Regions from separate parts of the Homo sapiens genome. Here all the other regions are linked to region 2. Evidence: promoter capture Hi-C in 16 types of primary human blood cells and fetal thymus (Javierre and others, 2016). All regions are on one chromosome and are shown on one strand. Each heading gives the region's core, a stretch centred on a gene start or on the middle of the fragment in contact. The rest is flanking DNA. Distances are from core to core; before and after follow the strand shown.

Evidence for each region. The method cuts DNA at HindIII sites, captures the fragments that hold promoters and counts their contacts. A CHiCAGO score of 5 or more calls a contact.
Region 1: a fragment that was not itself captured here is called in contact with the fragment with the promoter of ZNF45 in region 2 in 2 of 17 cell types (naive CD8 T cells and activated CD4 T cells); the score reaches 6.7 in naive CD8 T cells.
Region 3: a contact is called between a fragment that was not itself captured here and the fragment with the promoter of ZNF45 in region 2, in 3 of 17 cell types (M2 macrophages, erythroblasts and activated CD4 T cells). The highest score is 10.5, in M2 macrophages.
Region 4: a fragment that was not itself captured here is called in contact with the fragment with the promoter of ZNF45 in region 2 in 12 of 17 cell types (naive CD8 T cells, total CD8 T cells, activated CD4 T cells and 9 more); the score reaches 9.9 in naive CD8 T cells.
Region 5: a contact is called between a fragment that was not itself captured here and the fragment with the promoter of ZNF45 in region 2, in 1 of 17 cell types (M2 macrophages). The highest score is 6.0, in M2 macrophages.

What each region holds. Positions count from the first base shown.
Region 1 is chr19:44,286,560-44,290,306 of GRCh38, reverse strand. It overlaps ZNF235 (zinc finger protein 235), which reads left to right. Exons shown (of 5, transcript NM_004234.4): 5 at 1,111-3,747. The coding sequence ends at 3,089. Among named protein-coding and RNA genes, the nearest start is that of ZNF235, 17 kb to the left of the region's middle. The HindIII fragment of the contact is 1,866 bases long and covers 1,326-3,191 here.
Region 2 is chr19:43,932,938-43,936,741 of GRCh38, reverse strand. ZNF45 (zinc finger protein 45) reads left to right here and starts at 1,460. Exons shown (of 10, transcript NM_003425.4): 1 at 1,460-1,818; 2 at 2,048-2,316. It overlaps ZNF45-AS1 (ZNF45 antisense RNA 1), which reads right to left. Exons shown (of 3, transcript NR_184050.1): 3 at 928-3,804. The HindIII fragment of the contact is 8,828 bases long and covers 1-3,804 here.
Region 3 is chr19:44,324,253-44,328,542 of GRCh38, reverse strand. It overlaps ZNF112 (zinc finger protein 112), which reads left to right. Exons shown (of 4, transcript NM_013380.4): 4 at 1-1,988. The coding sequence ends at 1,110. Among named protein-coding and RNA genes, the nearest start is that of ZNF235, 21 kb to the right of the region's middle. The HindIII fragment of the contact is 893 bases long and covers 1,399-2,291 here.
Region 4 is chr19:44,215,485-44,219,605 of GRCh38, reverse strand. ZNF227 (zinc finger protein 227) reads right to left here. Exons shown (of 6, transcript NM_182490.3): 3 at 1,754-1,815. The coding sequence starts at 1,813. Among named protein-coding and RNA genes, the nearest start is that of ZNF227, 5.0 kb to the right of the region's middle. The HindIII fragment of the contact is 758 bases long and covers 1,558-2,315 here.
Region 5 is chr19:44,353,240-44,357,239 of GRCh38, reverse strand. It overlaps ZNF112 (zinc finger protein 112), which reads left to right and starts at 560. Exons shown (of 4, transcript NM_013380.4): 1 at 560-614. RefSeq lists an enhancer at 251-751. The HindIII fragment of the contact is 679 bases long and covers 1,101-1,779 here.

The DNA.
Region 1 (3,747 bases), core at 1,009-3,508, 350 kb before region 2:
AAGTGTCTTTTCCCAATGTCATCAACCCTCTCAATCCTGGGAAAGTTCTGGTAGTCTTTGAGCAGCGTATAAGGGGACAGGTCATCATCTTGGCTGGGCTGGACTGGTTTCTGGATGGCATATCCACAGGTGGCCTGGAGGAAGAAACTTGGAGGATACCAGCACCACTGGTTGGAAGGAAGCCTGGTGCTCCCTCCTTTTGGCTTCTCAAAAACTGGAGCTTGGGTCTCAGTGGAACTTAGCACCTTTCACACAGCCCTTGGCATGGTGACTTCTGACCCCCAAGGGGCCAGGGCAGCTGTCCCTTTCACAGCACGGACTCAGTTACATGAGTGCCACCACATATCTTCCTACTTGGTTTACTAGCTGTTGGAAAGGGGTATTGAAATCTCCAGCTATAAATATGGATTTGTCTATCAGTTATTTTGAGCATGTTTCTAGATGTGCAGGTTGTATAATGAGAGCCTATAATTGAGGCATATATTTTGCCTGATTTATGTAGTTGCTACTTACGATTCAGTTGCTGTAGCCAAAGAAGAGGTGACTTTTAATTTACCATTCTTATAGGCAAAGAAGTCAATTTTTCCTTTCTAAGTACTTACTGAGATATCATTTTGTTGTTCTGCAGTTGGCTGGTTTCTACCTCTTGTCCTATTCTTAGATCTGTAGTTCTGTGTTTCGAGAGGCAAATAAAATCCAGGAAAATCTGTGATGGTAAAGATAAGCTGAAAGTTTCCATCATGAACTAAAGCCTGATACCGAAGGAACTATGTGTAAAATTTGGAAACATCTGGACAAAGCATTCACTTTGGAGTTGTGTATACTGGAGAATACACACAGGCAGCAAGACTCATACTCAGAAAAGACCCAAGATACACCTTAACCATACCCTGGGCTGATCTCAAATTTTCTATCTTAAATATGGCTTTTTAAAACATTTGGTGTTCTCTTGGTTGCAGCTGCTTTTCAGAGTTCCTATAAATTTATTTCAGCCAGTCTAGTTGTTTTTTTGACGTTTCCATGGGGAAAATGAGAGCTTAGATCTTAATTCTCTACTTTGCTAATGTCAGTCTCTTGGTCCTTTATTCCTTATTCTCTCTATCCTTTCAGGAGACAGGAATCAAAATGAGATGGCAACTCTTCACAAAGCAGGATTAAGGTGCTTTTCACTGGGAGAGCTTTCATGCTGGCAAATCAAGAGACACATTGCGAGCAAATTAGCCAGAAGTCAAGACTCCATGATAAATATTGAAGGAAAGAGCTCTCAGTTCCCCAAGCACCATGATTCCCCCTGTCAAGTGGGAGCAGGAGAATCTATTCAAGCTTCTGTGGATGACAACTGTCTAGTGAATCACATAGGGGATCATTCCAGTATCATTGAAAATCAAGAATTTCCAACTGGGAAAGTTCCGAATTCTTGGAGTAAAATATATCTGAATGAGACACAGAATTATCAGAGAAGTTGTAAGCAGACTCAGATGAAAAACAAACTATGTATATTTGCTCCATATGTTGACATTTTCAGTTGTATTTCACACCACCATGATGATAATATAGTGCACAAAAGAGATAAAGTTCATAGCAATAGTGATTGTGGTAAAGATACCCTAAAGGTATCACCTCTTACCCAGCGTAGTATTCACACAGGACAGAAAACCTACCAGGGTAATGAATGTGAAGAAGCCTTCAATGATAGCTCCAGTCTTGAACTTCATAAACAGGTACACTTGGGAAAGAAGTCTCCAGCGTGTAGTACACATGAGAAGGACACCAGTTATAGCTCAGGTATTCCTGTTCAACAAAGTGTTCGTACTGGGAAAAAACGCTATTGGTGTCATGAATGTGGTAAAGGTTTCAGTCAGAGCTCAAATCTGCAAACTCATCAGAGAGTCCACACAGGGGAGAAACCCTATACATGCCACGAGTGTGGTAAGAGCTTTAATCAGAGCTCACATCTTTATGCTCATTTGCCTATTCACACAGGAGAGAAGCCCTATAGATGTGACAGTTGTGGGAAGGGCTTCAGTCGTAGCACAGATCTTAACATTCATTGCAGAGTTCACACTGGAGAGAAACCTTATAAATGTGAGGTGTGTGGGAAGGGCTTCACTCAGAGATCACATCTTCAGGCCCATGAAAGAATTCACACTGGAGAGAAACCATATAAATGTGGGGATTGTGGTAAACGCTTTAGTTGTAGCTCAAATCTTCATACCCATCAGAGAGTCCACACTGAAGAAAAACCATACAAATGTGATGAGTGTGGTAAGTGCTTTAGTTTGAGCTTTAATCTTCATAGTCATCAACGAGTCCACACAGGAGAAAAACCATATAAATGTGAAGAGTGTGGTAAGGGTTTTAGTTCAGCCTCAAGTTTCCAGAGCCATCAGAGGGTCCATACAGGAGAGAAACCATTTCGATGCAACGTGTGTGGGAAAGGCTTCAGTCAGAGTTCATACTTTCAAGCACATCAGAGAGTCCACACTGGAGAAAAACCATACAAATGTGAAGTGTGTGGGAAGCGCTTCAATTGGAGCTTGAATCTTCACAATCATCAGAGAGTCCACACCGGAGAGAAACCCTACAAATGTGAAGAGTGTGGTAAGGGTTTCAGTCAGGCTTCAAATCTTCAAGCCCATCAGAGCGTCCACACTGGGGAAAAACCATTCAAGTGTGATGCATGTCAGAAGCGATTCAGTCAGGCCTCACACCTTCAAGCCCATCAGAGAGTCCACACCGGAGAGAAACCATATAAATGTGACACTTGTGGTAAGGCCTTCAGCCAGAGGTCAAATCTTCAAGTCCATCAGATAATTCACACTGGAGAGAAACCATTTAAATGTGAGGAATGTGGGAAAGAATTCAGTTGGAGTGCTGGTCTCAGTGCCCATCAGAGGGTCCACACAGGAGAGAAACCCTATACGTGTCAGCAGTGTGGGAAGGGCTTCAGTCAGGCCTCACATTTTCACACACACCAGAGAGTCCACACTGGAGAGAGGCCTTACATATGTGATGTCTGTTGTAAGGGCTTCAGTCAGAGGTCACATCTCATCTACCATCAGAGAGTCCACACTGGAGGGAATCTGTAGAAATGAGAGGTGTGGTTCAGCCTTCAGTTAGAGCTCACATCTTTGTCTCCGTTGGGAAGTCCATGCTGATGATTGTGAAAAGTTCCTTTAAAACTAGAAGCTTCAAAGAATCTTGACAGGAAAGAAGTCTCTCAAATGCTGTGTTTTAGACTTGGTTAGGACATGAATTCTTTACAAACGTCATATTTCACAGATGCGAGAAAACTTTGTTCTGTAAATATGATCAGTGTTTATATCAGAGTACCAGGTGTCCCGGTTCTCAAGATGTAACACAGCAGAAAAGTCTTGTCGGAGTCTGCACAGGAGAGAGGCCTTCCTTTAACAAAAGTATGATTGACAGAAAAAATGGATGTCAACTAAAATGTAACCTCTATGTAAGGAGGTGTTTTTCACCACTCTATCTCTACCATGTAGAATTGTGCTTGGCTCATAATAGGGCCCAGCAATTACTGAAGAAAGTGAAGAAAATACCTATAATTAGGACAAATACTTGAAAATTCTAGTCTGTTTTCTACTCTAAATTTATATTAATTTATATTCAAAAGGAATCCTGCAAGTAGCCTTAATAACGTTAGTTTCAGTAAGTACTGAAAAGTATATAATACTGCCATCCATACTAACACAAATTTGGAAAAAAGACATGAATGGCTCCCATCCT
Region 2 (3,804 bases), core at 211-2,710:
AGAGAGAGTACTTATCCAGATTTTGAAATGGCATTGATGCAGGGCAGTTTCTTGGCTTTGCTCAGGAAAGAATTCAACAGCAAGCCAGCAGCGGAAGAAAGCAGGTTTATCGAATCAACAGTGTTAAAAGCTCAGTGACTGTTCCTTGCAGACCAAGACTAGCCCACAGGCAGTGTGCCCAGAGTAGCAGCATATGGGCTGTTGGCTGGGTATATTTATACCAACTTTTCATTACATGCAAATTAAGGGGTGAGTTACTCGGAAATCTCTAGAAAAGGGGTTGGTAACTTCCAGGTGTTGCCATGGCATTTATAAACCGTCACGGCGCTGGTGGGAGTGTCTTATACTGATAGGTAGCAAAGGGAACTTACAGGTTGCTTTCCATCACTTGCTGGTTTCAGCAGGTTTCTTATCTGATCTTGGAATCACGCCCTGCTGGTCTCCTGCCTCAGCCTAAATTGAACATTGTTCAGATGTTTACAGCTACTCCTATGTAGTCAACTTCCATTTTTTCTTCTTTACCCTTTCATAATAAACTTGGAAAAATATTTAGTTTCTACCTAGGAGAAAAGTGAATAGTATAGCTTTCTGTATTTTTTGCACTTCATGTCTTAATCCCTCACTTCACCTCCCTCTCCTTACTGAATATTCATAGACACTTTGGCAAATCATAAGACACCTTTACAGATTCCTGATTCTGAGAGCAAGAAGTGATGTGATTCCTTAATCTGAACTGAATGTTTTCAAGATTTTATATAGGATAGAGCCTATTCAATACTATAATACTTTCTTCAGTATCCTGCGAATGAAAGAAAACTAAGCGCAAGAAAAGTGGAGAATTTTGCTGCTTTTGTTTCATGTCCTGCTGGATGATTGCATCTCCTTTTTTGAGCATTTTTAATCACAGATGAATCCATACCCATATTATAAAAGGCTTGTTGCTCTGGGCGGCTCTGGCCACCTCTTTTATTACCTCTGTTTTTAGCTCACACATAGCATTCCTTTGTATTTTCCTTTTTTTTTTTCATATTCGCAACTTCTGTCACGTATAAAAGGGAACAATGGCAAAAGGAAAAAGCAGGCTGAGCTCTACAAGCAATGACTTAGACTCCCCCCGCTAATTCAAAAGGAAAATTGCAGGCTGGCGGGAAGCTCAGCCCTACAGAGGATTCTGGGACGTGTGGTCCAGACTTTTGGGGGCACTTCAGCTCTGGGAAAGCGCGGCTTTGTTATTTGCTCCCCTGGGGAAATAGGAACCTATACCCCAGTGCTCAGTGGGTTCGGTGGTACTTCGACTATTTGAGGACGAGAACACGAAGCCCGCTCCCCTTGGGGATTCTGAGAAATAAGATTCGGCCGTGGGAGTCGAAGCCCGCACTTCCGCCCAGGGGGCGGGGCAGCGGCTTCCGTTCCTCCCGGGGATGCTGGGAAATGTAGTTCCAGAGCTCCCTGCTCTCCCGGGCACTTCCGCGGCAAGAGGTTGAGAGCGCGGCCTTCATTCCTCTCGTGGAAGTGAGTGAGTCCTGGGACCCCGCGACCTGTTTTAACTTTTATGGTTTGGTCGTAGGATCAGCAGGGCTCGCACTTCGGTCAGCAGGAAAAGACGCTGCGGCGAGCAGCGGAGGGCGGAGTTGAATGGCTGGGCAGCTGATTGCCTTACTGTATCCGGAGCTGCTGCGTTCGGGGCGGTTCGGGAGTCCCCTGGTTGGAAGTGGACCTGAATGGGGAGGCGTCTGAGGATCTCCTGGGCTCTCAGCGGCCCGACCCGCCTTCCCCCACCTCCCACAGCTCTGTAGCTTCCTAGCGGTGTAACGTTGGGTGAGAACTTAATCTTTCGGTGCTTAGTTTCTGGTCTTAGTTTCCTCTTCTGCAAAAGGAAATATTAACCTTATATATTTGTTTTGACAATTAGTAATATAGTACAAGTAAAATGTGTATGGAATAGTACAGGAATGTGGCAACATGTCGGCCGTTAATATTAAAACTATCATAATAAAAAATATTCATTTTTCAGCAAGCGCCTGGCTCTTCTTTCTGATTCCTGCAGGAAAGGAGGCTGTTCTTGGACTATGCCTGACCCGTTTTTTAAGAAAGAGTGCATCACTCAACAGGTGGCGTCTGGAGTTATCCTCTGTGGATTTTCCAGGATCTCAGACAAGATCGTGCAATCTCCCAGCCTCCTTTCCTTCCCCTGCCCTGACTTCTGAAAGAATGCTGCGGGAGAGGAGGAAGGAGAGCATCCTGGCTTCTGGCAGCAGAGCCCCACTGTGACAGGACCTAGCATTCACCTTCCTCTTCTGTTCCGAGTGCGAGAAGGTATTTCATTCCTTGCAAATGTTTCTGCTACAGAAGTGTTCCGTTATTGTATAATTGGAGAAAATGTGACATGAATATTAGTCACACTAGTTAAACATTGGGTGCTGAGTATCACTCTGAGGGCTTTATAAAAACTAACACACTGAACCTTCACAAAGGCCTTGTGTTGTGGGTTCTGTTCACCTTACAAAGGTGATGTGGGTATTGTGATATGGGTACTGTTATTACACCAATTATACAGATGAGGAAATGGAGAGAGCCTAATTTACTTTCCTATATCACAGTGCTAGTAAGAACAGTGGGATTTGTGTCCTAGACTTGGGTTCCTTACATCTGAATACCCTTGGTCTCACAGTTTGAAATCCCAATTTAGAATTAGGAAATAAAATAGATAAATGATCCATATAAATAATCATAGGAAACTGGCTGCAGAGGAGCCATTTGAGATCAAGTTGGGGAGGGAGGTTGGAATTTTACTGTAGAAGATTTTGAAAGCAAGGTTGAGTTTAGACTTTAGAAAATTTTGAAAGAATTCTCATTTAATTTTAAGCAATATTAGTAGTTCATATTTTGATCATAGAGATGCACGTTCTCTGTACAGGATGTAGAAAATACAGAAATATAAAATATTACAAATTTCCTTAATACTAGGATATAGATAATTATTAACATTTTAATGCATTTCTGTTTAGCAGTTTTTAATGTGTTTTTGTCTGTGTTTTATGAAATTGTTATCACACTATTCATAGTGGGTTGTTATTCCCTTATTTTTTACTATGGAAATATCCAAACATACCCAAATATAATGAACTCTTATGTACAGTCACCCTGCTTCCATTCTTGCTAATCTTATTGCCTCTCCCACCAACTTTTTTTCCCTTGAGTATTTTAAAACAAACCCAGATGATGAGTCAGTAAGGCTTAAAAACTAATAATTATCATTAATTGTGTTTTTTGTTTTTTGTTTTTTTTGAGATGGAATCTTGCTCTGTTGCCCAGGCTGGAGTGCAGTGGTACGATCTCAGCTCACTGCAACCTCTGCCTCCTGGGTTCAAGCAATTCTCCTGCCTCTGGCTTTACAGGTGCCCGTCACCACGCCCTGCTAATTTTTGTGTTTATAGTAAAGACTGGGTTTCTCCATGTTGGCCAGGCTGGTCTCAAACTCGACCTCAAGTGATCCGCCCACCTCAGCCTCCCAAAGTATTGGGATTCCAGGTGTGAGCCACCATGCTAGGCCTCACTAATCGTTTATATATGAAGGCCAAGGGAGGGGCAATTATATTCATTTGCCAGGGCTGCCATAAGAAAATACTACAAATTGGCTGGATTATACAGAAATGTATTTGTTACAGTTCTGGAGGCTAAAAGTCCAAAATCAAGGTGTCACCAGTTTTGGTGGCTTGTAAGGCCTCTCCCCTCTGTGTGCGTGAGCTCCCTTGCTGTAAGTCAACTTCATCACCTCTTTAAAGGCCCTATTTCCAAAGACAG
Region 3 (4,290 bases), core at 596-3,095, 390 kb before region 2:
AGAGTCCACACAGGAGAGAAACCTTATAAATGCGAGGAATGTGATAAGGGATTCAGTCGGAGTTCATATCTTCAAGCCCATCAGAGAGTCCACACTGGAGAAAAACCTTATAAATGTGAGGAATGTGGGAAGGGGTTCAGTCGAAATTCATACCTTCAAGGCCATCAGAGAGTTCACACTGGAGAAAAACCATACAAGTGTGAGGAGTGTGGGAAGGGCTTCAGTCGGAGTTCACACCTTCAAGGCCATCAGAGAGTCCACACTGGAGAAAAACCATTCAAATGTGAGGAATGTGGGAAGGGGTTCAGTTGGAGCTTTAATCTTCAAATTCATCAGAGGGTTCACACAGGAGAAAAACCCTATAAATGTGAAGAATGTGGTAAAGGCTTCAGTAAGGCCTCAACACTTTTGGCCCATCAGAGGGTCCACACGGGAGAGAAGCCATACCAATGTGATGAGTGTGGTAAGAGTTTCAGTCAGAGATCATACCTTCAGAGTCATCAGAGTGTCCATTCTGGAGAAAGACCATATATATGTGAGGTATGTGGAAAGGGCTTCAGTCAGAGAGCATATCTTCAAGGTCATCAGAGAGTCCACACTAGAGTGAAACCGTATAAATGTGAGATGTGTGGGAAGGGCTTTAGTCAGAGTTCGCGCCTTGAAGCACATCGGAGGGTTCACACAGGAGGGAAACCATACAAATGTGAGGTGTGTACAAAGGGTTTCAGTGAGAGTTCACGCCTTCAAGCACACCAAAGGGTTCATGTGGAAGGGAGACCCTATAAATGTGAACAGTGTGGTAAGGGTTTCAGTGGGTATTCAAGTCTTCAAGCCCATCACAGAGTCCACACAGGAGAGAAACCATACAAATGTGAGGTATGTGGAAAGGGCTTCAGTCAGAGATCAAATCTTCAGGCTCACCAGAGAGTCCACACAGGAGAGAAACCATACAAATGTGATGCATGTGGTAAGGGTTTCCGTTGGAGCTCAGGTCTTCTCATTCATCAAAGAGTCCATAGTAGTGATAAATTCTATAAAAGCGAAGACTATGGTAAGGACTACCCTTCATCAGAGAATCTACACAGAAATGAAGATTCTGTTTTGTTTTGAAGTCCTCAAATGGGAGCTGAAATTTTCCAGTCACTAGAGTTCTTTCAGTAGAAAAAGAATTTTTAAAAATTAAAATGTAATGTTGCTGCCCAACTTCAACATTCATAATGGCCAGGAGACCACACAACAGAGACATTTAATGAGAGGGGTTTCACGAGGGATTTTGTTAGAACTTTAACATCAGTCATTGCACAGGAGCTAAGGCTTATAAAATATGAGTATGGTCAGGAATTTAATAAAAGTACAGTGATGAGCATGCCTAAATCCATGTTCTCTAGAATGTAAGCTTGGTGAAAGAAGGGACTTTGTTCATTGCTAGTCTACAAAACTAGGACATTTCATAACGCAATGTAGGTGCTCAGTACTTTTTGCTAAATAACTAAAAGTATGTAAAGGTAAAAGGTTTGAAATTTTTAAGCGCATTTTTTAAAACTTAAAATGTATTTGGAGGAGAAATCCTGCAAGTAATCTTAATAAAATCATTTCAAGTAAATATTTGAAATGTAGAACAATAAGCATTATGATGATCTGAAATAACATTAATTTGATTGTAACCCTATTGGGGTTAGTTCCCACCCTTTGTTCCATCTTGAGCAGAGATGTGCTGCATTTCTTAACGTTTGGTCTCTATACATTATACCATCTGCTGAAGTTTAGCTTTGTGTGTGTGTATATGTACCCATGTGTGCACTTGAAATATCAGTACAAACTGATAAACAATGTTTCTGGTTAATGTTGCAAAAATGGAACACTGTATTTTACATAATTGATTTTCTACTCCTGCCCTGTGAATTAAGGCAGAGTTTTACTGTAATATTTGCAAGTATCCAAAATGGTTACTGATGACAAATACTTTTTAATAAATGTCAAAATCACAATACTTGGGGTTTTTTTATTCTCCATATTTCTCTAAAAGTCCATTTGATCTGACTGATTTCTAAATGTTGTAGCCTTTGTCCAATCCACACCTCCTTAAGCAGGGTCAAGTTTGAAAGATTTTAATTTTGTCAAGTTTTCCATTCCCATACTTCTCCCACTCACACACAAAAAAAGGGAAAATCTTGAATTTTTCTAAGCATATTTATCAATGTATTGACTAGCAGGATAGGGTTGCCATTTACTTGCTAGTGTCTGTCTTCAAGAATGATGCATTTTGTTGGCGAAAGTGAAAAATACAAGCTTGTCGTTCTATATATATCAAAATACTTATCAAGCCCCCCATATATATCGGAATGTAAAATGTGCATACCGATCTGGAAATCGTAGAACAGTAATTTATAATTAAGCAATTTTAGCAGTAAGAAAGGATTTTACAATGATAGTAATGTTTTAAGCTGGAAGTAAATGTCCATCAATATGAATTTGGGTAAGTTTCTGTATGTTCTATACTATGGATCTACAGAAAGTATGATTTAGCTCTAAAATGACAAGAATGGATCATGCATATTGTTTAGTAAAAACCTGGACTGTACGTTCATAATAGCCAGCTAATTTAAGCCTGTGTGCATGTATGTTCAAATATATGCTTATAGATAATGTGTGAAAGATTACTCATTATTATATCCACAGTAGTTTTCTCTGGAAAGAAATTTTTGGCTTAGTTTTTCTGTGCTTTATTTAAAAATATTTATAATGGACATTTACCAATTACACCAAAGCAGTAAACAGCTATTGATATATTATCTCTTATACTTAAGAACTCATGATATGATTGCTTGATTTCACTGTATGACATTATGACCAACAACAGTAAAGAATAAACCCCCTGAAGTTAGTTCTTAAAATTTCCTGGATTTTTAAGAATACAGATAAATTAGGTGTCCATAACTTTATATTTCTGTGAAATTTCCTTAGGTCTCAAAATCCATGTTGCCTAGGATGTCCTAGTGCAATCCAGTTTTATAAATTGATGCTCACGGCTTTTCCATCAGATTTCCCCTTGCTGGATGAATATGATGACCAAAGCACTGGCATAACTTGGCTTTTGAGGTGCTGGTTCAAGTTGCACAGTATCATCAGAAATCCAGGGCTTCTAAAGCATGTCTTTGATATCATCACTTACAGGGGAGAGCTCATGGTGGTTTTATCAATTGGAATGCTTTTAGTTCTAAGTAACAGAAAATTTAGAGTTGCCTAAACCAAAACTGTTTCTTAGTTCATATAAATGAAAAGATACAGATAGTGTAAGACTAGGGTCTGGGTAAGGTAGGGGGATTTTATATTGCTTTCTTTTAATTCTCTCACCTCTCTTTTCTTGTGAATTCTTGTCTTCATGTTGTTCACAATATAGCAGCATCACCTGCTTTCTTTTCACAGCCGAAGGAAGAGATATTCTGTACCATTTTAGTCCTGTGTGGTTCTGGCTCCCCAAAATGCATAGAATCTCTGACACTCCAATTCCCACTAACAACTGAGACTAACCAAGACAACAAAGGACACCGCTGGTCCCCTAGCCTATTCCTAGTGAGAAGCAACAGCAGGCTACCGTGAGAAAAGGGAAGAACATGGAGAATCTTTCTTGGCCCTGGTGCCAAGGGATGGCCAAAAGCTGAGGATGGGGCAACAGGAACATTGAGAAAACTTTAGCACTCCAGTTCCCACCCTAAGCACAAGGTAACACTAGAGAAATTTGAAGCCATGGTACAACTAAGATAAATATTGCAACAACAAAACCCAATTCCAGCTTGATTCCTGACCAGATTAATTCAGCACTCCACCCTGACATCCTAGCAGAACATGTGTGCCCAGTTTTAGGCAAAAAATAATGTTGTCTTCAGTCTCTACTGTTTTGTATATGTTATCTGGCATTTTATTTTAAAAACACAAGATCAAAAGTTGAGAACAATCTTCTGCCAATAGATAGCAGACCAATCAATAAAACCACACTTATAGATAACCATATTTTGGAACTATTAGGGAATTTTACATAACTGATTGATGTGCTGAAGACTCCAGTGAAAAGGGCAGATAATATGCATGAGCAGATAGGGATTTCAGTAAAATTTAATAGTCAAATGGGAAATGCTAGGAAAAGAAAATTTATGCTACTGCTTTTACTTTTATCAGAATGCTTTTGAAGGACTTATGAGTAGGCTCAACATAGTTGAGAAAAGTGTCAGAACTTGAATATAGGTCAATAGAAATCATGCAAACTAAAACACAAAAAGAAAAAGTGTGAAG
Region 4 (4,121 bases), core at 687-3,186, 280 kb before region 2:
TCATTGACAATATAAGTAAAACCAATATATAAATAGAAAGCTATTTTATTAACATTTTCACACATTTAAATTATTAGTGAAGTTTTTTTCATAAATTTCTTTTCTTTATGACACTCCTATTCATTTCTTTTGCTCATATTCCAGTTGGAATTTTCTCTATATTACTAATCTTAACAGGAATTTAAGCTATTAGACCTTTACCTAATGTTTAAGTATATGCCACCGGTTTGCTGCTGTCTCTTACCATCATACCTGATAGCTTTTGCTGTAGGGAAATTTAAAACACTTACATAAAAACTGTGCTTGAGCATCTACGTTCATGGAATGACTAAGAGACAAAACTAGAGAAGAGACAGTAATTGAGATGGAAACTGGATGAGGGGCATTGTTGGGGTCTATCCTCCAAAAGGTAATATCAGGGCCAGGTGCACTGGTTCACGCCTATAATCCCAGCACTTTGGGAGGCCGAAGTGGGTGGATCATCTGAGGTCAGGAGTTGAAGACCAGCCTGGCCAACGTGGTGAAACCCCGTCTCTAATAAAAATACAAAATTAGCCAGGCGTGCTGGTACATGCCTGTAATCCCAGCTACTTGGGAGGCTGAGGCAGGAGAATCGCTTGAACCTGGGAGGCAGAGGTTGCAGTGAGCTAAGAACATGCCATTGCACTCCGGCCTGGGTGACAAGAATTAAACTCTGTCTCAAAAGAATAAAAAGGTAACATCAGGTACTTCTATCATATGTGCTCATCTCTGTGAATGGAAAACTCTTTTGTTCTGTCTGCCTTTACATGAAAATAGAATGCCAGATATTCCTAATAGTTGGAAGCTTCAGTGTCCAATGAGTCAGCTACCTGGGAAATTTGGGGCAGTTATAAAATGTTCCCATAACCTGTTTCTTCATATTTAAAATGCAAATAAATCATCTCCATCCTCACATCTGAAAAATGCAATGACAGATGGAAAGGGCTAGCAAGACATCTAAGTACTACTAGACCTTACGTACATGTAGTTACTTTGATGAAATAAATTCATACAAGAAATAAATGAGTGATAAAAACATAAACGGGAAAAATATATAGCTCTTCTTCTCTGAAAGCATCTAATAAAATTACACCATGTCATTCTTTAGATGTTCTGTTTACAAAACACCTGAGGGAACTGACATGAAACTGAGACATAAACCTCTTCAATGCAGAGTTCCTAAAACTTTAAGGACAAATAATATTGAATTCCACCAGAATTTCTTTTGAAGGAATTGTTTTTATATGTAGGGAAAAAAGTCACTGGATTTACTTTAAAGTAGTAAAATTCTTAAAATTTCTGAATTTCTGAAAGGCTAAATAAGAAATAGTTTTTGTTGTCTTTTAAGGGCACTGCAATTCAATGGCATATGATGTACTCACTTACAATGCAGGTGATGCAATTAAGTGGAGAATGCACAATTGAAAATTTCATCTACTCAAGTATTGCAAAATGTGTATGAAAAAGGAACATGGGAAAATGAAAAAAGCTAGTTCATAAGCAGGGTAGTAGCATAGATTATTTCTGATTAAAGCTTCTATTATTTTTTCAAACACTGTTTTGTAAAATAGTAAAGGTGATAAACTAAAACAAAAAAACACATACATGTCAGCATACCACATGTCCTGAATATCTGTTTCCCACTAACCTTTCCAAGAAAGAGAAAAAATAAATCTGTTATCTTTGAGAAATAAATCACATTTTAAAAGACAGCAAGGAATCCTTTACGTACCTGAAACTTGGTCATTTTCTCCTGCTTCTTCTGGGGAAGGTCATAGTTCTGAGATGGCATAACTGGGGGAGACCAAAGACGCCATGAGACACAAGCCTGCTGTTAGCCCATGTGTACATATGAGGAAATTAGAGAAATAGCCCTACATTCAGACAGGTATAGCCACATACAGCTTGGTAAGCAGAACATGGACTGTATTCCAGCTACTAAATGGCATGATAGTTCAGTGCCATTGGGCAGTGAACAGTCTGCACAAGTGCAGCATCCTTGCTACAAGGATTTCTGATGGCAGAGACAGCAGGAAACGAGAGGCAATGTAACAACATATGAGGGCTCTCAAGTCAAGTATCTGGGTTTAATTCCTAGAAATGATACTTACCAGCTGTGTAACCTTGGGGATATTAAAAACCCTCTCTGTGCCTCACTTCTGTTATGTGTACAATGAGGATATGGTAAGAATCATAAATCGTACCTCCCTCATAGGGTTTTTCCAAGGATTAAATAAGTAGATGGAGAGTTCTAAGAACCAGGAGTCCCTTTCTCTTATAGTTACAAAAAAGCTTCTTCATGGCTTCTTGCTGTTTAGCCAGGCCTGGCACAGTGGCTCATGCTTGTAATCCCAGCACTTTAGGAGGCCAAGGAGGGAGGATCACATAAGGTCAGAAGTTTGAGACCAGCCTGGCCAACACGGCAAAACCTCATCTCTACCAAAAATAAAAAAAATCAGCCAGGCGTGGTGGTGCGGGTCTGTAATCCCAGCTACTTGGGAGGCTGAGGCATGAGAATTGCTAGAACCTGGAAGGTGGAGGTTATAGTGAGCCAAGATCACGCCAATGAACTCCAACCTGGATGACACAGTGAGACTCTGTCTCAAAAAAAAAAAAAAAAAAAAAACAAGCAGATGATACTTTGCATCACACACTTGCCTTGCAAATATTGCTCTCCTATGAAAGTCACCTTTAATTTCTGAAAAGCCGAAATCTGACTTAAGGTTTCTTTTTAGTAATTTGTTGCCCAGCTAGTAATATTTTACTGACACTGTTATCAGTTTTCTAAAACGTATCATTCTGGGTCAATTTACTTCATGAAGCCTGGAAACGATCATTGGTACATCTCTTTTATTTTATGTGCACAGAGAAAAACACACAGCAAAGAGAAAGATAAAGCACAAACGAAAAATCAAGAAACATGAAAGATAAATTGAGAGGCTTCCGTATTTGTCTAACAGGAATGGGAGAAGAGAAGGCAGGATGGAGGGAATGACTGAGAGGTTTTAATTTCAAGATGCAATTGCTGAGAATTTCACACAATTGGTAAAAGATACAAGTTCGCATATAGAAATTCTAAACAGTATAAATAAAAATAAACATACCCTAAACAAATCACAATAAAACTCAGAAATGCAAAAGACTAAACGAACATAAAGAACTGGAAACAACAACCTTAAAGCTCCTAGAAAGAAAATATAGTTGACCTAAAAGAAATAACAATTAGATTGACAGAAATAGGGTAACAGAATGGAGATTTAAAACAAATGAATATTACCTCCAAAATAAAGAAACTGTCAACCTGAATTCTATGTTCAACTAGATGATTATTTACATGAGAAAGAAACAATATTTTAGCTGAAAAAAAAAATGAAGAGAATTTATAACCATGTGAACCCTAAAAGATGGACTGCAAAAAGCAATGGTAAGAAAACATTTGTGACTATATTGGTAATATAATAATCTTTGTTTAAAAAAAGCCAAAGAACTATAATGACAAATTTTGAGGGTGGTTATAATAAAAAGTAGACCTATAAAAACATAGCTTTTTTTTTTTTTTTTTTAAAGGTACATCTTTTTTTTTTTTTTTTTTTTTAGAGAGAGAGTTTCGCTCTTGTCACCCAGGCTGGAGTGCAATGGCACAATCTCAGCTCACTGCAACCTCTGCCTCCCAGGTTCAAGCGATTCTCCCACCTCAGCCTCCTGAGTAGCTGGGATTACAGGTACGCACCACCACGTCTGGCTAATTTTTGTGTTTTTAGTACAGACGGGGTTTCATCATGCTGGCCAGGCTGGTCTCAAACTCCTGACTTCAGGTGATCCACCCGCCTAGGCCTCCCCAAGTGCTGGGATTACAGGCATGAGCCACCGCACCTGGCCCCATCTTCTTTCAGATTTTTTTTAGTCTCAATATTCTTCAGAATAAGAACACATGCTGATTAAGTTTAGTATTTGCTAAGAAAGAGAATATTTTTAAAGTTAGAAGAATGACACAAAACCATATAAACTCCAGACCAGTTGAGCACAAATAAAAGGGAATAAACTGAACAAAAAAAGACAAGAAAGGAGAACAAAATATACACACAGATAGTAAAAGCAAA
Region 5 (4,000 bases), core at 191-2,690, 420 kb before region 2:
GTTTATTTGGGTTTGTGTCGCGTTTGAAGAAAAATAAATTCAAACTCTAGGGGGAAGGCAGTAGAACTGGACTAGCAGTATAAAATTGGATGGCTAACCAAAAGAGAATAGTGACTATACAAATACTGACTATCCAAACGAGAAAGAGACGACTTAAGGGAAAGTGCTACCCTGCAAGAAATTCCGGGAATTGTCCAGAAGATCCACAGGGTCAGAGACACACGCGCCAGGAAAGGCGCCTTTCATGCACGGTCCGCTGGGTAAAACAGAGAAATATATATACGAGCTCTCTGTCTTTGGAAGCATTTCGGTTCCAGGAAGGGGGAGTTAAGGAATTCCTTTGGGACCGGCACATGTGAAATATCATCCAGGCTCTCAGCTTGGCACCCGGTACTTGCGTCCTAGGCAGGCAGATAAGTGGAGAGTTTTTCTAGGAATTCTGGGAAATGTAGTTTGGGAGCCCCGTGTAGTCGGGTAACTTCCGCTCTAGGAGGCTGAGGCCGTCTCCCTGATCCCGTCGGGAATTCTGGGAAGCGTAGTCCAGGAGGTCTCGGTAGGCAGAGCCACTTCCGCCCCAGGTACGCTAGGCCGCGGCCTTCGTTCCTCCCAGAAAGGTGAGCGCTCCCCGCCCTGCTTCCTGCTCCTTCCGTCCATACTGATGTTCGTTTTGTTGGGGTCCAGTAGCAACCGGGCAGTAGCTCTAGGGGAGGATAATCCACTTGCGGCGAAGGGCGGGATTTGTGTTATCTTTGAATGAGCCTTCTCCAGTGTGGGGCAGCTGGCGCATCCCCACTTAGCGCCGGGGGTCCAAGATCCTACATCGCAGGGACTGGGGATCTCCTGGGTTCTGTACTTCCCCAGCCCTTTCCCCTGACCATCAACCAGCTCTGCCACTTCCTAGCAGTATAATAACAGGCGAGTATCTTAATCTCTCTGCCTATGTTTCTTTTTCTTTAAAATGGTACTAGTATCTATCTAATGGAGTTCTTTTGAGAGTTAAATAAAAAGACTTGGAACAGAGCCTGACAGGTGGTAGAAGATGGGTCTCTTGTTATTAGCACTTTTTAATTTTCTGAGAAGGACTCAGTTCCCTGAAAGCTTCTGTGAACCCAGGATGGGGTCAGAGCTCCAGCTGCAGAGTATCCCTGGCCCTTTTCTGATCACTGAGAGATTTTTCTTTAGGACAGGATCACTCCTGGCTGTCTGGGTAGTCCATTGTAATTCATGCAGGAGTTCTGATTTCCCCCATCCTCCTTTCCTTCTTTAGCCTTGACTTCTTGAAAAAGGCTGCAGGGAGAAGGAGGGAATGACCCTTTGGCACTTGGCAGCGGAGTCTCACCTGAGTAGTACTTATCATCCTTTCTTTTCAGGGAAGACGATATTTCCATCATTCACTGGCAAATTCTGCTCGAAGATGCGCTGATATTTGTTCAATAAATGCAGAAACGGATGAGGGAGTACTTGGGCATGAGTAATAAAGATAGTATTTAAACATTTAGTGCTGATCATTCTAAGAGTTTGATATGAATTAACATCTTTAATCCTCACAAGAGCCCTTTGAGCCTGGGTTGGGTACCACCATTCCCATTTTAAAGATAAGCAAACAGACATAGAGCATAGGTGGTTTATCTTTAGGTCACCCAGGTGGTAAGAGCCTGAGCTGGGATTTGAATTCAAATAGTTTCCATCCATTGCCTTAGTTCTTGATGTGTTTAGTATCAGCTTCAGAACACATATTTGGATTTTACTAGAGGACCGTGAAAGCAAGGTTAATAAGCTTTGAATTTTTGATTTTTTAAAATTATCTGTAATTTAATTTTATTTGAAATATTTATAGTTCATATTCTGATTATATAAATTATTGCATATTGTAAAAGATTAAGAAAGTATAGAAAGTGTAAAAGAAAAAAATTATGCTAACCACAAGATATAACAGTAACAATATTAATATTTCAATGTTTTCCTCTTCCAGTAGACTTCTTTTTGGATTTTCACCCATGTTTAACCAAATAGGCTTCATAGCTTTTATTTTTCCCTTAAGTTTTTACTATGGAAATTTGTAAGCATAGCCAAATGTAATATGACTAAAATAATTCTGTGGAAGCGTCACCCAGCTTCAACCTTTGTTAACATTTGCCAGTCTTGTATCAACTCCCTGTCCCTTTTTTTTTTGTTTCAGTATTTTAAAGCAAATCTCTAACATCGACTTAGTATAATATCGTTTGATTGATTGTCATAATTGCCAAACGTTGATGATCATAAATTGCTTATATCCAAGACTTTGAAAGGGAAATGCCAGCAGCTACTCTAAGGTTTTCATTCGTTGAAGCTTACAGAATGGTCCTTACTTGAGGAAGCTAGGGGATGCAAGAGAATTGTACCTTGGAGAAGGATGGTGATGAATTTTGTGTTCCAGTATAGAGTTTGCCTTGCCTAAGTCTTATAGCTCTTTGTTTCTTATTTCTCTTTATCTAAATCCATACACTGAAAGTTCTTCTATTTCTGGGACCATGTCATACTTTTCTCCATGTGCCCAGCACATCGTACAAGGTTGTTAAGGGTTTATGGTTAGAGTAGCTACTCAACAGACAGCTGGCATCAAGGATTTGCAGTGTGGAATTGGAATTAGGTATCAAAATAGAATAGAAATAACCCCTGGATATATTCCTTAATCTCACTTAATATTGGTAGGTTATATAATCCACCAACTATTTCAGAGTATTGAAGAGTTGAAGAGCAATGATTGGTTATGTTTTGATAATCTAAAAAAATTCCTAAGAAACAAATTGTTAGAAATGGTAACAACATTTATAGACCATGCCTTATAACTGAGGTTGTGTTTCCAGGTTTTTAAAACAGGTTTTTAAAAAATGTTTTTACAGTGACATTGACTATTTTGTTATTTTTGGTATACAATTCTATTACAACACAGGCATAGTTTGTATAACGACTACCGTAGTCAGAAAAAGAACAGTTCCATCACCCCAAAAACTCCCCTCATGTCTTCCCTCATAATTACCCCTCACCATACCTGTAACCACTGGCAACTACCATAACCACTAAAACGCTATAGTTTTGTCTTTTTGAGAATGTCGTATAAATGAACTGATGCTATATGTTAACATTTGAGACCGGATTCTTTTACTCAGCAAATTGCTCTTGACATTCATCAAAGTTGTTATACGTATCAATACTTCATTTCTGTTTACTTCTGGTTAACAGAAGTGTCCACTTTATGGATGTATCACAGTTTATCTATTCTCTGGTTGATAGACTTTTTCCTCCACTTTTTGGCATTTATGAATAGAGCTGATATAAACATTCATGTACAGTTTTTTTTGTGCTTATTTCTGTAGGGTACGAAGCCAGGAGTGTGGTTACTGGATCATATGGGGAATGTATGTTTAACTTTATAAGATGCCAAACTGTAGTATCTGTACCATTTTGCATTCTCACTAATGATGTAGAAAGTTCCAGTTTATTTACATCTTCATCAGCACTTAGTATTTTCCTTATTTTTTTTTATTTTAGCCATTCTAAGCATTGTGACTTTAATTTACATTTCCCTAATGGCTAATGGTGTTCAGCAGATATTTCTTTTTTTGTTATTGTTTCTTTGCCATCCTTATATCTTCTTTGCGGAAGTGTCTGTATGCATGCTTTGCCCAGTTTTACATTGGGTTATATTTTTCCTATTGTTGATTTTTGAGAGCTATTTATATATTCTGGATATAAGTCCTTTGTTGGATGTGTGATTTGCAAATATTCCTTCTCAGCCTGTAGCTTGTCTTTTCATTCTCTTAATAGTGTCTTTTGCAGAACAAAATTTCTAATTTTAATTACATCTAATTTATCAATGTTATCTTTTTTGGATTGTGCTTTTGATGTCATATCTAAGAAGTCTGCCTAGCCCCAGGTCGTGAAGATTTTCTCTTGTTCTAGAAGTTTTATGGTTTTACACTTAAATCTGTGATCCATTTTAACTTTTTTTATAATATGT